Linked DNA regions of Homo sapiens: regions 2 and 3 are each linked to region 1. Evidence: promoter capture Hi-C in human tissues and cell types (Jung and others, 2019). All regions are on one chromosome and are shown on one strand. The core of a region is centred on a gene start or on the middle of the fragment in contact, and the rest is flanking DNA. Distances in the headings are between cores, read along the strand shown.

What was found. The method cuts DNA at HindIII sites, captures the fragments that hold promoters and counts their contacts. A contact is called where the count stands out against the background at its distance.
Region 2: a contact is called between a fragment that was not itself captured here and the fragment with the promoter of ULK2 in region 1, in 1 of the 25 tissues and cell types used here (lymphoblastoid cells).
Region 3: a fragment that was not itself captured here is called in contact with the fragment with the promoter of ULK2 in region 1 in 1 of the 25 tissues and cell types used here (dorsolateral prefrontal cortex).

What each region holds. Positions count from the first base shown.
Region 1 is chr17:19,865,972-19,870,660 of GRCh38, forward strand. ULK2 (unc-51 like autophagy activating kinase 2) reads right to left here and starts at 1,965. Exons shown (of 27, transcript NM_014683.4): 1 at 1,357-1,965. The coding sequence starts at 1,446. RefSeq lists an enhancer at 1,082-1,590 and silencers at 1,169-1,348, 1,429-2,018. The HindIII fragment of the contact is 32,590 bases long and covers 1-4,689 here.
Region 2 is chr17:20,107,594-20,112,282 of GRCh38, forward strand. It overlaps SPECC1 (sperm antigen with calponin homology and coiled-coil domains 1), which reads left to right. Exons shown (of 15, transcript NM_001243439.2): 3 at 2,834-2,969. It also overlaps the pseudogene KCTD9P1. Among named protein-coding and RNA genes, the nearest start is that of SPECC1, 100 kb to the left of the region's middle. The HindIII fragment of the contact is 5,222 bases long and covers 1-4,689 here.
Region 3 is chr17:19,653,199-19,657,887 of GRCh38, forward strand. ALDH3A2 (aldehyde dehydrogenase 3 family member A2) reads left to right here. Exons shown (of 10, transcript NM_000382.3): 4 at 3,168-3,376; 5 at 4,547-4,664. Among named protein-coding and RNA genes, the nearest start is that of ALDH3A2, 6.8 kb to the left of the region's middle. The HindIII fragment of the contact is 6,920 bases long and covers 1-4,689 here.

The DNA.
Region 1 (4,689 bases), core at 715-3,214:
TCATAAATTATAGTGCAATATGCCAAGATCCTACAACACAACTTCTAAAAATAACAAATATGAAGTCCACATGGTAACTAACATTAAATGAAAAAAGAACAGTTCACAACCACTTCAAAGTTATGGACAAATGTAGAAATAAACTTGGAAGGTGATACAGTTAATTGAAAAGTTATTTGTTAGCTTGGAAGGATTACACCGTGCTTGAGTTCTAAATTATTTTCCTAATAAATGAAAAGTAGGCCGGGAGCCGTGGCTCACACCTGTAATCCCAGCACTTTGGGAGGCTGAGGCGGGCAGATCGGATCACCTGAGGTCAGGAGTTCAAGACCACACTGGCCAACGTGGTGAAACCCCATCTCTACTAAAAATACAAAAAAAAAAAAATTAGGCGGGCGTGGTGGCGGGCACCTGTAATCCCAGCTACTCAGGAGGCTGAGGCAGGAGAATCGCTTGAGCCCGGGAGGCAGCGGTTGCAGTGAGCGGAGATCTCGCCACGGCACTCCAGCCTCGGCGACAAAGCGAGACTCTGTCTCAAAAATAAATAAATAAATAAATAAGAAAAGTAGCATTACTTCATCCGATAAGCAACAAAGTCAGCCCACTTTTAACACGCCCCTTGGGCAACAATCAGAACTGCCACACCCTTTAAGATTATTTCCACTCCCGATATGCCTTTCCAAATTCTTTAGATTCTAAAACCTCGTGTAACTGTACTTGCGAAACAGCAAAGGCTTAAAACAATTTTTTTAAGGCTTAAAGGTGATTTCATGTTCAAGGTGATTGAAAATGAATTGTCCAACCACCTTTCTCACCCGGAGCTCGTCTATCTGACTCCGGGGGGGAAAACGGTACGGGGGCTCTTCGGGGTGCAGGGGACCAGTGCTGGGAAAGGTGACACCTCCCAGGCTGCGAAAGCCTGAGGCTAATGGGACATCCGCCCATTTTCCGCTGGGTCTGTAATTATCAACCTCAAAAGTGACCAGCCCTGGGCACGGGGAAAAAAACCAAAGGTCCATTCACGCCCAACCCTCGAGTCTGCACGGTGCAGTACCGTCTATTTTGGGTCCAGGGTAACCTGGGTGCAAACGCTCCTGCGGGCGGACCGCGGGGTGGGCCCCGGGCACACAGGAGGATCAGCAGCAGCCGGTCGGTAGGCGGAGCGCTGCCAGAGGCTTGGGCCTCACAACAACCCTCACAGGACCAAAACAAACGGCGAGACGGGCTGCGCGCACAATAGCATACCCGGGCGGCTAGCCGAGTCGGGGGTCTCGGCTCGCGGCTGCGCCAAGTTTCAGAACCACCTAGCCCCGTGCCTGCCGCCCGGGGCCCGGCCTCGCCCCGGCCGGCGCTCACCTGGCGGTGCCGCCCCCGGAAGACCACGGCGAAGGCCCCGTGTCCCACGAGATCCCTCTTGCTGTACTCGAAGTCACCCACCACCTCCATGGCCGCGCCCCCGGGGCACACAGCGGACGGGCGGGCGGCGCAGTGCGGCGCAGGTATCAGCACCGCGGCTCCGCGGGCCCGGAGCGCGCCAGCGTGCGGCGGGTCTGGGGCAGCCGCAGCCCCGGGCCCGGGCGGACTCTCATGCCGAGAGACCGGAGCGGAAACTGGGGAAGCTGCCGCGCGGAGCCAGGGTCAGCGAGGCCCGGCCCGGCCCCTGCCGCTCATGGCCCGGCCTGCCGCCGGCCGCTGGCTGTCTGGCGAAGCGGCCTCGGCGCTGCCGGGCCAGGGGTGCCGTCACCGTCACTGTGCGCGCCCAGAGCCGCACACGCGCTCTGAGGCAGTGAGGGGCCCGGTACTCTCCATCCCCAGCTCGTCGGGCCTCCTCGGCCCTCCCCGCTCGGGGCGCTGCTGCGACGGCGACGGCCGCCGCCCTAGAACCCGCACCGCCGCGGCCCCGCGCTTCCCCGCCTCGCGGCGGCGCCCAACGCCCTCGCGCGCGCTACCCGCTCCCGCGCGACTGGCTGCCCTCCGCGACGTCCGCGCGCCTTGAAGGCCGCAGCGCCAGCCGGCTCCCTCCGCCGGGGAAAGGAGTGCGGCCAGGGCTTGGCGCCCGCAGCTGGGCAGATCCTCGGCCGCTCCTGAGGCGGGGACGAAGGGCGCGACCCGCTGCGGCCACAGCGGGTTACGGGCTGCGGGCTCCGTTCTGGGCCTGGGGAGCAGATTCGAGCCGACCACGCCCCGGGCTCCAGGCCGCTGGGAGGCGGACTTCAGAGAAGCGGGTCTTGAACCCCAGCTGCAGGCAGGACGGGATTATCTGCGCAGGGTAGACCCCCAGATTCCTGCCAGAGCAAAGGAGCAACTGCTACTCCAGGCTTTGCCCGCGCTCTGGAAAACCAGAGTTCACGCTGCCAAACTGCCAGCCTTCGGACGCCTCTCGGGGTTTACTCGCTTAGGATCCCTAGAGGGACGGTGACAGGCGGGATTCTGCACCTTTTGGGGGTCCCTTGACTGCGAGAAGCTGGTGACAGCTCAGGGCCCTCTTCGCAGAGAATCGTTTCTGCACACCGACTCAGAATCGCACACGTTTTCAAGGTTCTCCTGGGAGCTCCTAGTGTCAGGCTAGTTTGACCTCGGGCTTACTTCACATGGCCGAAGGGAGCTTTCTTTTCTACCTGATTGTTAAAGCTGTCCAAGTGACAAGGAACAGATTGTCAGGTTTCCCGCAAAGAAGTGTCTTATGAAACCATTTAATAAACAATATGCTTGAAACTACCATGGAATACGCAGGCTCCACACTTGAGTGTGTGTTCGGTTGTATAGGGTATGTGCTTTTGGGGTCTGTCACCACCTCGACTGCCACTGCCTGTCCCTGCAAGCTGATCTCTGAACCATGACAGAGTCAGCTCCAGGATTCTGAGAGAACGCTCCTTCCTCACACGCTCAAAACGTAGGGCCTTGAGTTTCTGCTTCTGCTACTGTGCACGCTTACGTTATCCTGTCCTTACTTACATCTGGCCCAGGTGGTTGTGTTAGACACTGAAAATCTGGAGCCTTCAAAAGTTGACAGCAACTTAAGCAAGTTTGCACATACACCCAAAAATGGATGGAGATGATTCCTTACCTCACTGAAAGATTCTCTACAGTCTATTTTTTTGTTTACTTTTTTTTTTTTTTTTTTTTTTGAGACAGAATCTTACTCTGTCACCCAGGCTGGAGTGCGGTAGCACAATCTTGGTTCACTGCAACCTCTGCCTCCCAAGTGCAAGTGATTCTGCTGCCTGAGCCTCCCAAGCAGCTAGAATTACAGGCACGCACCACCACGCCCAGCTAATTTTTGTATCTTAGTAGAGATGGGGTTTCACCATGTTGGCCAGGCTGGTCTCAAACTCCCAACTTCAAGGGATCAGCCTGTCTCGGCCTCTCAAAGTGCTGGGATTACAGGCGTGAGCCACCACGCCCGGCCTGTTTTTTGTTTTGAGACAGAGTCTTGCTCTGTTGCCCAGGCTGGAGTGCAATGGCATGATCTCGGCCCACTGCAGCCTCCGCCTCCTGGGTTCAAGTGATTCTCCTGCCTCAGCCTCCCAAGTATCTGGGATTGCAGACCTGCACCACCATGCCCGGCTAATTTTTTTTTTTTTAGTAGAGGTGGGGTTTCACCATGTTGGCTAGGCTGGTCTCAAAACTCCCAACTTCAAGCGATCCGCCCACTTCGGCCTCCCAAAGTGCTGGGATTATAGGTGTGAGCCACCTCACCTAGCCACATGAAGGTTTTTTGTTTGTTTGTTTGTTTGTTTTGAGACGGAGTCTTGCTCTGTCGCCCAGACTGGAGTGCAGTGGCACGATCTCAGCTCACTGCAAGCTCTGCCTCCCGGGTTCACGCCATTCTCCTGCCTCAGCCTCCGGAGTAACTGGGACTACAGGCACCCGCCACCACGCCCGGTTAATTTTTTGTATGTTTTTAGTAGAGACGGGGTTTCACCGTGTTAGCCAGGACAGTCTCCATCTCCTGACCTCGTGATCCGCCCACCTCGGCCTACCAAAGTGCTGGGATTACAGGCGTGAGCCACTGCGCCCGGCCACATGAAGGTATTTTTCAGAAACCTCCAATAGGCCCTTCGTTTGGACATGCGTGTCCTGTATTCACAGGCCAAACATGGGCCCCATGGACATATCCATTTGAAAAGCAAAATGTGCAGGATTTCTGACCTCAAGAGTCAGAAAAGAAGTGGGGGCAGGAGGCAGGGGGTGCTTTGCTAAAAAATGTTTAGTTAGGACTATGTTGGTAGCAAATAGCAAACGTCAAATGTGATAAAGTGAAAAATAAAGAATGTAGATAAAGATACAGGTGTGCTTCTCAGAGTTCAAAGTTGGGCTTCAAAAGCAAACTACCCGCAGAACCAGGATCTCAAAGAGAACTGCCTTCCGTCTGTGCCCCTGCTTTGTTCTCTTGCCTGAGATCTCCTACATGGTGGCAATGGCAGCCCCAGTCTCCAAACCAAATTTTTTTTTTTTTTGAGACGAAGTCTTGCTCTGTCGCCCAGGGTGGAGTACAGTGTTACGATCTCGGCTCACCGCAACCTCCGCCTTCCAGGTTCAAGCGATTCTCCTGCCTCAGCCTCCCAAGTAGCTGGGATTACAGTTGCGTGCCACTGCACCTAGCTAAAATTTTTTTTGCTTTTTTAGTAGAGGCGGGGTTTCACCATGTTGGCCAGGCTGATCTTGAACCCCTGACCTTAGGTAACC
Region 2 (4,689 bases), core at 1,121-3,620, 240 kb after region 1:
TTACAGGCATGTGTCACCACACCTGGCTAATTTTTGTATTCTTAGCAGAGATGGGGTTTCACCATGTTGACCAGGCTCATCTCGAACTCACCTGGCTAATTTTTGTATTTTTAGTAGAGATGGGGTTTCACCATGTTGACAAGGCTTGTCTCAAACTCCTGACCTCAGGTGATCTGCCCGTTTTGGCCTCCCAAAGTGCTAGGATTATAGGCATGAGCCACTGCGCTCGACCATGTGATCCCACCTCTACAAAAATATTTTTAAAAAATTAGCCAGGCATAGTGTTGTGCACCTATAGTCCTAGCTACTTGGGAGGCTGAGGCAGGAAAGCCCAGGAATTCAAGGCTGCAATGAGCCATGTTTGAACTACTACACTCCTGCCTGTGTAACAGAGCAAGACCTTGTCTCTAAAAAAACAAAAAGACTTCTACCGTCATCCCTCTTGTTAAAAGGCAATGGCGAGTTACTGTTTAATGAGTAGACTTTATTTGTGATGGTAAAAATTTCTGGAGATGGATGGTGGTGATGGTTGTACAACATGGTGAATGTATTTAATACCACTGAATTGTGCACTTAAAATGGTGAATTTTATATTATGCTTATTTTAGCACAGTAAAGTTTTAAAAATTACAAAAAAAAGGAAAAAAAAAAAACCCAGAAGGCTAGTATTTGCAGGAGTGGAACTAGGACTTTGCCTAAATTGCAAACTTCCTTCACTCCAATTTTCTTTTTCTGTTTTAATGAAGCACAGCATATTTACAATAAAATCCATAAAGTACACTAATCTTAATCTTAGCTATAAAGCTCATTGCATGTTTATATTTTTTTACACTTGTGTAACCACCACCCTGTCAATATGTTGAACGTTCCAGCACCCCAGAAGGTTTCTTTTTGGTTGTAACTCCCCGAGAGGTAACCACTATTCTGACTTATATTACCATCATTTGATTGTGCAGCTTTTAAACTTAATACAAGTGGAATCAGGCAGTATATACTCTTTTGTGTCTGCTTCTTTCACTTAGCATAATACCTGGGACAGCCACCCATTTATTAGTATATCAGTAATTCATTTTTTTCCTATTTGCTGTGTGGTTCTCATTGCATTTATCCTCTCTGTTGAAGGACATTTGGGTTGTTCTAGTTTTGGGCTGCTATAAAAAAGGTGCTATGAACATTCTTTTGAGGGACCTATGTACTTGCTTCTCTTGGGTGCGGATCTAGGAATGGGATTGCTGAGTCACAGGGAACTGTGCGTGCTCACTTAGGAGTCTCCCTTCTTCGACTTACTGCCTTTCAGCAAATGTTTGTCCTACCCCTTTCATGACAGGGAAGAAAGCAAAGCAAGAGCAGAGGGTGTTGCTTTCTTCTATTTTCCAGCCTTAGCGTTAGTAGATACTGCCACTTTCCAAAGCAGTTATGCCAGTTTACACTTCCACTCACAGGGCATGAGTGTTCCAGTTGCTTCACAGCCTCACCAACACTTGGTATTGGTGTTTATTCACTTTCAAACTATGGTGGGGTGAGGGTGGTTACACCCTGAAATTTAAATGATGCAAAGATGGAAACTTTAAAAAATTGTGCAAATATTTAAACTTCTAACTCTCAGTAAATGACCCCAAAGCCAGTGGAGTAGGATGGAGCAGGGCTTTTCCCTTCAGCCTGTGTGATGGGCGGGGCTCGCCCACTGCATATCGACATTGATTTAAGGGCTTTTCCTTACTGTGTGCTCTGGATGTCAGATACATTAGACAGCTTTGGGCAGCTGCCTTCTCCAGTCTTCCGGCACTGTTCCTCTCCAGAGCCTTCTTTCATGAAGACCCAACAGTAGTTGAGAGAATTCAGTTGTGGTTTTTCTCATTAACGTTGAATGTAATCTATCTGGGCCTGAAGTGTGGATCACTTAGGAGTCTCCTTTCTTAGACTTCAGCACCTTTTAGCAAATGTTTGTCCCATGACAGGGAAGAAAGCAAAGCCAGAACAGAGGGCGCTGCTTTCTTCTGTCTTCCAGCCTCCAAGATTTCCTTTCTCACCTTTGAACACATTTTCTGTGTCAGATCATCTACAGAATGCTTGGTGGTGAGGCCACAGCAGATACTCAGATTGTTTCTCTCCCTCCACCTCCTCCTGGCCTATGTCATGAGCCTTTTTTTGTTGTCCTGGAATTTCTTTTGCATTGCCCTACCCTGCCTTTTGTGCATCTCCCAGTTCTTTTTTCATTGGTTCCCATTCTTTTTTTCCCCCACCAGGAGAGCAGATTTATTTTTTATTTAAAATTTTTGTTTAGAGACGAGGTTTCACTTTGTCACCCAGGCTGGAGTACAATGGCACAATCATAGCTTACTGCAACCTTGAACTTCTGGGCTCAAGCAATCCTCTCACCTCAGCCTCCTGGGTGTCACCATGCCCAGCTAATTAAAAAAAAATATTAGCGAGACAGAGTCTCACTGTTGCCCAGGCTGGTCTTGAACTCCTGAGCCCAGCAGTCCTCCCACCTCAGCCTCCCAAAGTTCTGGGACTACAGTCGTGAGTCACTGTGCCCAGCCACATTTTTTAAGGCTCATTACTTGAAGTGTGACCTGATGGTATTCTTCACGCACAGTCTTAGACACTGCTCTTTGAAACAGTCATGGGAGATCATACTCGGACCTGTTATGACAGAAACAGGTTTGTGTAGCTTTGCATTTTTTCACTTCACTCTATCATGCTACTCAAAGTGCTGTTATTGTATCTTGACTGCTGGGCACATAGCCCAGCTCCCATGCTCTGCTTGTTTATAGCGCTCCTTCCTGAAAACCACCTCTTCATCCTCTCTCTTTCCTTCCAACTCTCTCAGCTCAAGAGGGCCAGCAGTGAGGACACGCTCAACAAGCCAGGAAGTACCGCTGCATCGGGGGTGGTTCGCCTGAAGAAGACCGCCACTGCCGGAGCCATCTCGGAGCTCACGGAGAGCCGCCTGAGGAGCGGCACAGGTAGGAGGGACCGGGCAGGTGGGCTCGGCAGGCCATCAGTCCTGGCCGCATGGAAGCACTTCAGTGACCCATGACCCATCCATTCCTTCCCTCGTGAAATATTTCTTGACCACTTACCCTGGGCCGGAACTGTTTTAGGCAGACGATGTCGCTGCCCACAGGGAGTTTACATCTATAGAGTGGGGAGACCGATGAGAAGCAAAAGGTAACTGGGCGTGCTGTGGTTTCTTTGGTCCCTTCGGAGGTCCATTTGTCACCATGCACGTGTGAAATCCTTCTGACATCCAAGCAGGGCGGCATATGTTCTGGGGCTGTCTTGATACAGAATGCATTAGAGGAATGAATGAACCCTGTTGATCCCTTGCGAAGGTGGGTGTCTAATATTTGTACTGAACCCTATGGAAAGCTGGGAAGAGCCTCGCCCAGCAGCTGTGGAAGGCTGCTCAGAGTGGCTTGGACGGCAGTGGCAACAGGAAGCTGTGAACCTTCTCAGTGTTACTCATTTTTTAAGAATCAGAAAAGGGTTTTTCAATCATTATATTTGAGTTCAGAGCATGTGAAACATGAAATATCAAAGAATTTATTTAATTCTCTCTTTGTGCATATAGATAATAACTCTTAAGCTTTCATGGCCTAACTCTTACAGTGCAGCCCTCAGTGTATTGCTAAATTGTCTAAGACGGGAAAAATAACTGAAATACATCGTTACTAATTTTTAATGTGTTGAAGGGGCACTTATAATTTTTGTGCTCTTTTCGTAAAAGTCACATTCAGGCTAGATCTCAAAAGGTATATTTTAATTTATCAGTTTTTAAAAAGTTGAATCTGTGAAAACCATACAAGGTATTCTTTTCTTGGATATAAAGGGAATGGCCTGGTTTTTCTATATAATGGCTTTACCATTGTAAATACTGATATTGTATTAAACATACACACACACTTGGTTTTTAAAATACAATAAACAAAAGTACCATTTATTTTTATCAAGCCAGCCTAACAGTGATCCCAAAAGTTAATAAAGCCCCACTCAAAAAAAGACAGACTGGGAGGAGCCTAGGGGCAGGGTGGGAATGAGGACCAGCCGAGTCCCGGGTGTGGGACAAATTGCGTGTGTGTGGTGTGTCCCCAAAAGCAGGAAGGTGGCGAAAGGAGGCGAATCCCAGTGGGTGGAGGGAGGGGAAAGGCGGAAGGAGAAAAAGGTGGGAGGAGGATCGGGTGGGAGGGTGGTGGCTCACTCAGGACCCAGGGGGGGGGCAGCGCGATGAGGTGGGTGGCCCTGTTCCTGAACGGCAGCCCCAAGAAGGGAAAGGTGGTTGCTGTATGTGGAACTTTATCTGATTTGCTTTCTGTGGCCAGTGGTAAACTTGGCATAAAAGCCACCAGTGTGTATAATGGCAAAGGTGGACTGATTGATGATATTGCTTTGATCAGGGATGATGATGTTTTGTTTGTGTGTGAAGGAGAGCCATTTATTGATCCTGACAGATTCTAAACCACCTGAGGGATTGTCAGGATTCCACATAGACTGGCTAACATTAAATGCTGGAGGGGCGGTACTTTACAACCACACAGAGCACTTTAGTGAATAAAGAACCTGATAGTATGCTGGCCCACATGTTTAAGGACAAAGATGTCTGGGAAATAAGCAAGATCACAGAGGAGCTTTCTTAATTGACCGAAGTCCTGAGTACTTTGAACCCATTTTGAACTACTTGTGTCA
Region 3 (4,689 bases), core at 2,190-4,689, 210 kb before region 1:
CATGCCCAGCTAGTTTTTGTATTTTTGGTAGCGATGGGGTTTCACCGTGTTGGTCAGGCTGGTCTCGAGCTCCTGACCTCAGGTGATCCGCCCAGCTTGGCCTCCGAAAGTGCTGGGATTACAGGTGTGAGCCACCATGCCCATGTGTCTGGAATTGGTGGGTTCTCGGTCTCACTGACTTCAAGAATGAAGCCGCGGACCCTTGCAGTGAGTGTTACAGTTCTTAAAGATGGTGTGTCCGGAGTTTGTTTCTTCTGATGTTCGGACATGTTCGGAGTTTCTTCCTTCTGGTGGGTTCGTGGTCTTGCTGGCTTCAGGAGTGAAGCTGCAGACCTTCGTGGTGAGTGTTACAGCTCTTAAGGCGGCGCATCTGGAGTTGTTAGTTCCTCCTGTCTGGAGTTGTTCATTCCTCCCGGTGGGTTCGTGGTCTCGCTGGCCTCAGGAGTGAAGCTGCAGACCTTCGCAGTGAGTGTTACAGCTCATAACGGCAGTGCGGACCCAGAGTGAGCAGCAGCAGCAAGATTTATTGCAAAGACTGAAAGAACAAAGCTTCCACAGTGTCAAAGGGGACCCGAGCAGGTTGCCGCTGCTGGCTTGGGCAGCCTGCTTTTATTCCCTTATCTGGCCCCACCCGCATCCTGCTGATTGGTCCATTTTACAGAGAGCTGATTGGTCCGTTTTGACAGGGTGCTGATTGGTGCGTTTACAATCCCTGAGCTAGACACAGAATGCTGATTGGTGCATTTACAATCCTCTAGCTAGACATAAAAGTTCTCCAAGTCCCCACTAGATTAGCTAGACACAGAGCACTGATTGGTGCATTTACAAACCTTGAGCTAGACATAGAGTGCTGACTGGTGCTTTTACAATCCTCTAGCTAGACATAAAAGTTCTCCAAATCCCCACCAGATTAGCTAGATACAGAGTGCTGATTGGTGCATCCACAAACCCCAAGCTAGACACAGAGTGCTGATTGGTGCATATACAATCCTCCGGCTAGACATAAAAGTTCTCTAAGTCCCCACCCGACTCAGGAGCCCAGCTGGCTTTGCCTAGTGGATCCCACGCCGGGGCTGTGGGTGGAGCTGCCCATCAGTCCAGCGCTGCGCGCCTGCACCCCTCAGCCCTTGGGCGGTCGATGGGACTGGGCGCTGTGGAGCAGGGGGCGGCGCCCATCAGGGAGGCTCGGGCAGCATGGGAACCCACCAGGGGCGGGGTGGGGGCCTTGGGCATGGCGGGCTGCAGGTCCCGAGCCCTGCCCTGCGGGGAGGTGGCTGAGGCCCGGCGAGAATTCGAGTGTGGCGCTGGTGGGCTGGCATTGCTGGGGGACCCGGGGCACCCTCCTCAGCAGCTGGCCCAGGTGCTAAGCCCCTCATTGCCCAGGGCTGGCGGCGCCGGCCAGCTGCTCCGAGTGTGGGGCCCATTGAGCCTGCGCCCACCCAGAACTCGCTCTGGCTTGTGAGCGCCACGCGCAGCCCCGGTTCCTGCCTGCGCCTCTCCCTCCACACCTTCCCACAAGCAGAAGGAGCCGGCTCCAGCCTTGGCCAGCCCAGAGAGGGGCTCCCACAGTGCAGCTGTGGGCTGAAGGGCTCCTCAAGCGTGGCGAGAGTGGGTGCCAAGGCCAAGGAGGTGCTGAGAGCGAGCAAGGGTTGCCCGCACGCTCTCACCTCTCACCCAGCCTATAAGAGTACTTCTGCTTTCAAAAAAGACATGTCTGTGGCATGAAAACATGCCACACATACACAAAAAGTGCCCTCCTGAACTAGAGGGCAGATCCTCACACTGACTTAACATGCTGGCATTTAAGAATATCAAGAACTGAATAAAGAAAATGATCTGCCCAACTGCGGGTAGTTCATCTGTCTGAGTCAGAGGTTCTTATGCCTTCCTGGGGAGGAAGTTATGATGCCGCGAAGAAATTGGCACTGCTGAGTTCTACATGCAGTTGCTACAGGGAGGAGTCTTCATTTAGCTTTAAGCGAAATACAGCTTAAAAATATCTTACCTGTATTCTGTACATCAACTTGTGATGGATTGAGGCCAGTTCTGGTTCTTGGAATGATATTTTTCTCTTTGTTAGAGCCATTTTGTTCTAATAGCTGTGATGATCCAATCAAGAAAGATGAAATGGAAGACAGTGAGATGTCAAGGATTGAATAGGACGTAGAACCAGAAGATAGAGGTTGAAGGTACCGCTTTGCCCCTGACCAGGGGTAAATTCTTCAATAACTGACTCTGTCCGGATAAGGAGGATAATAATGCTCTACCAGCTTCAGTTACCGTGTTAGGGGATCAATAATATATGCTATGTAGATTAAGCCATAGAAAAGTTAAAGCTTGAAACATTTGTTGGGCAGCTGAACCATGAAGTGAATGAAATTAATTCGCCTTCAAGTGGAAACATGAGATCCACAAGCCAGCTTTTACTTCACACTTCCACCTTGGAGTCTTGAATACCTCTCTGTCTTCCTTGCTTGCCATCTGTTCTCTTACTTTTGATGCTGTTATTGTCCAAGATGTTCTCTCTTAGAATAGCTGGTAATGATAGCACAATGCATAGATGGGCTCAGTCCACAGAAGCTACGTGAATTCTCCCAGTAACAGATGAGGAAATTGAGGCTCAGAGATGTTCAGTAGCTTGCCTAAGGTTGCATAAGCTAGTGAGTGGCAGAGCCCAGATTCAAACCAGATACACTTCAAAAGCAAGCGCTCTCAGCTACTGTGCCGGATATACCATTCATTCAGAATAGCGTGGGCTAAGCCCACTCTGTGTTGTGAGACAGAGAACATTCAGACTAAGACATGCATGACCTGTCCTGTGGGAGCCACTCTTCACCAGAGGCACTTCTGCACACACCCGCGTCTCATGCATTTTCCCTGGTCAAATTCAACCATTTGTTCTCCTTAGTGTCTTTGTTGCTGAGCTCATGTAAAAAAACACTGGAGTCTCCAGATTAGTTCTATGTGGGTTCATGCTTCCCAGATGCCATCGGACTGTGTGTTCTCCTCTTGTCCTTGGTCAGTTCCCTCTCCCATCCCTCACAGGGACTGGTCTTGACACTCTCTGGGTTTTACTGAATGTTACATGTTTATGTTGAAGAGATTGCTGATGTTAGACGTTAGGATTTATTTGGCAGTGCAAGAGTTTGTGTTTCTCTTTCTTTGAGGATCTCTATATTGTTATTAATGGTGGTGTTGAGGAAACCACGGAGCTCCTGAAGCAGCGATTTGACCACATTTTCTATACGGGAAACACTGCGGTTGGCAAAATTGTCATGGAAGCTGCTGCCAAGCATCTGACCCCTGTGACTCTTGAACTGGGAGGGAAAAGTCCATGTTATATTGATAAAGATTGTGACCTGGACATTGTTTGCAGGTGAGTCTGGCTCTCTGATTTTCTGAGGTTTTCCCAGCACAATGGAGACTTTTCCTGACAATGTTACTCTTTGTACTTGAACCCCATACCTTATGGCTCCAAGATACATTATTAAGCTTTGGTGGTTGATGTCCTCAAGAGTAACAGGAGTCTTTCACTGTCTCTTGGCGCCACTGTCAAAAATGGTGAGCTGTAAGTCCTGACATCATGTGGTTGTCCTTAGGAATTTTAAAAAAGTTATATCTGTTCTCAAGATTACAGCTAGATCTAGCAAGAAATTTTAACGTTCTTCTGGCCAGTGATCTGTGAAGTACATAATCCAAAGTATTGTGTGTGCCTAATAAAATCTTTAAATGCCCATTTGAGAGGGTATTATGCTGATATCTTAACTGAGATCCTTTGTGGGCAAAACAAGTGTTCCTCATTTTTTAACTGTGAATAACATCTTGCATCTGAAAATTAGAAAATAAGAGGTTTCAGGTTCTCTCTGCTAAATCCGGTTTAGCTACTAAGAAGTGCCAAATCATAGAACTGACTCTGTGCTCTGGGTGGTGTGGCTTTCTCTGCCCTTCAGAGATTCCAGGTCAGGGTTCCAGGTTGGCTTCCTAAGTAGAAATCCATTTGTCAAAACCAGACACCCTCAGTTAGTGAATGTTTAGGGCATGGGTTTCTGCCCATGCATAGGAAAGGTCTTCCCAAGTGGGGCAGGGCTCCACAAAGAGGAGGATGGCCTTGGAGGCTGGCTGACATCCTGCTTTATACCTGAACATCTTGCAGGCAGAGCCAAAAGCCACAACCAGGAGAGTCTGTACCGAACTCTGGTCATCCAGGACTTTCCTTTGGCTGGACTGGAAGAGGGGAAAGGACATTGGGAGGCTGTTTCTCCTCTTTTCCTGCAGCAGGCAATGGCTTCACTGTTTACCAAGTACTGTTTGCCGTGAGCTGGCCTGAGAACTTCCCTGCTATGTAAAATATTCCACCTCATTTGGAAAATACTTTCTAAGTTCCAAACAACTGATTTAGAAATGAGTTTTTAACTTTTTTATAAAAATTGCCAGATAAATATATGAATCTATTTTAGTTGCAAGACATTCAAACAACACAATGTAACAAATGAATATTTGACTGAATTACTGAATTATATAGCTGTTCTGGATGTTTTCCCCTCAGACGCATAACCTGGGGAAAATACATGAATTGTGGCCAAACCTGCATTGCACCCGACTATATTCTCTGTGAAGCATCCCTCCAAAATCAAATTGTATGGAAGATTAAGGAAACAGTGAAGGTTTGTATTAAAAACATCTGATTCC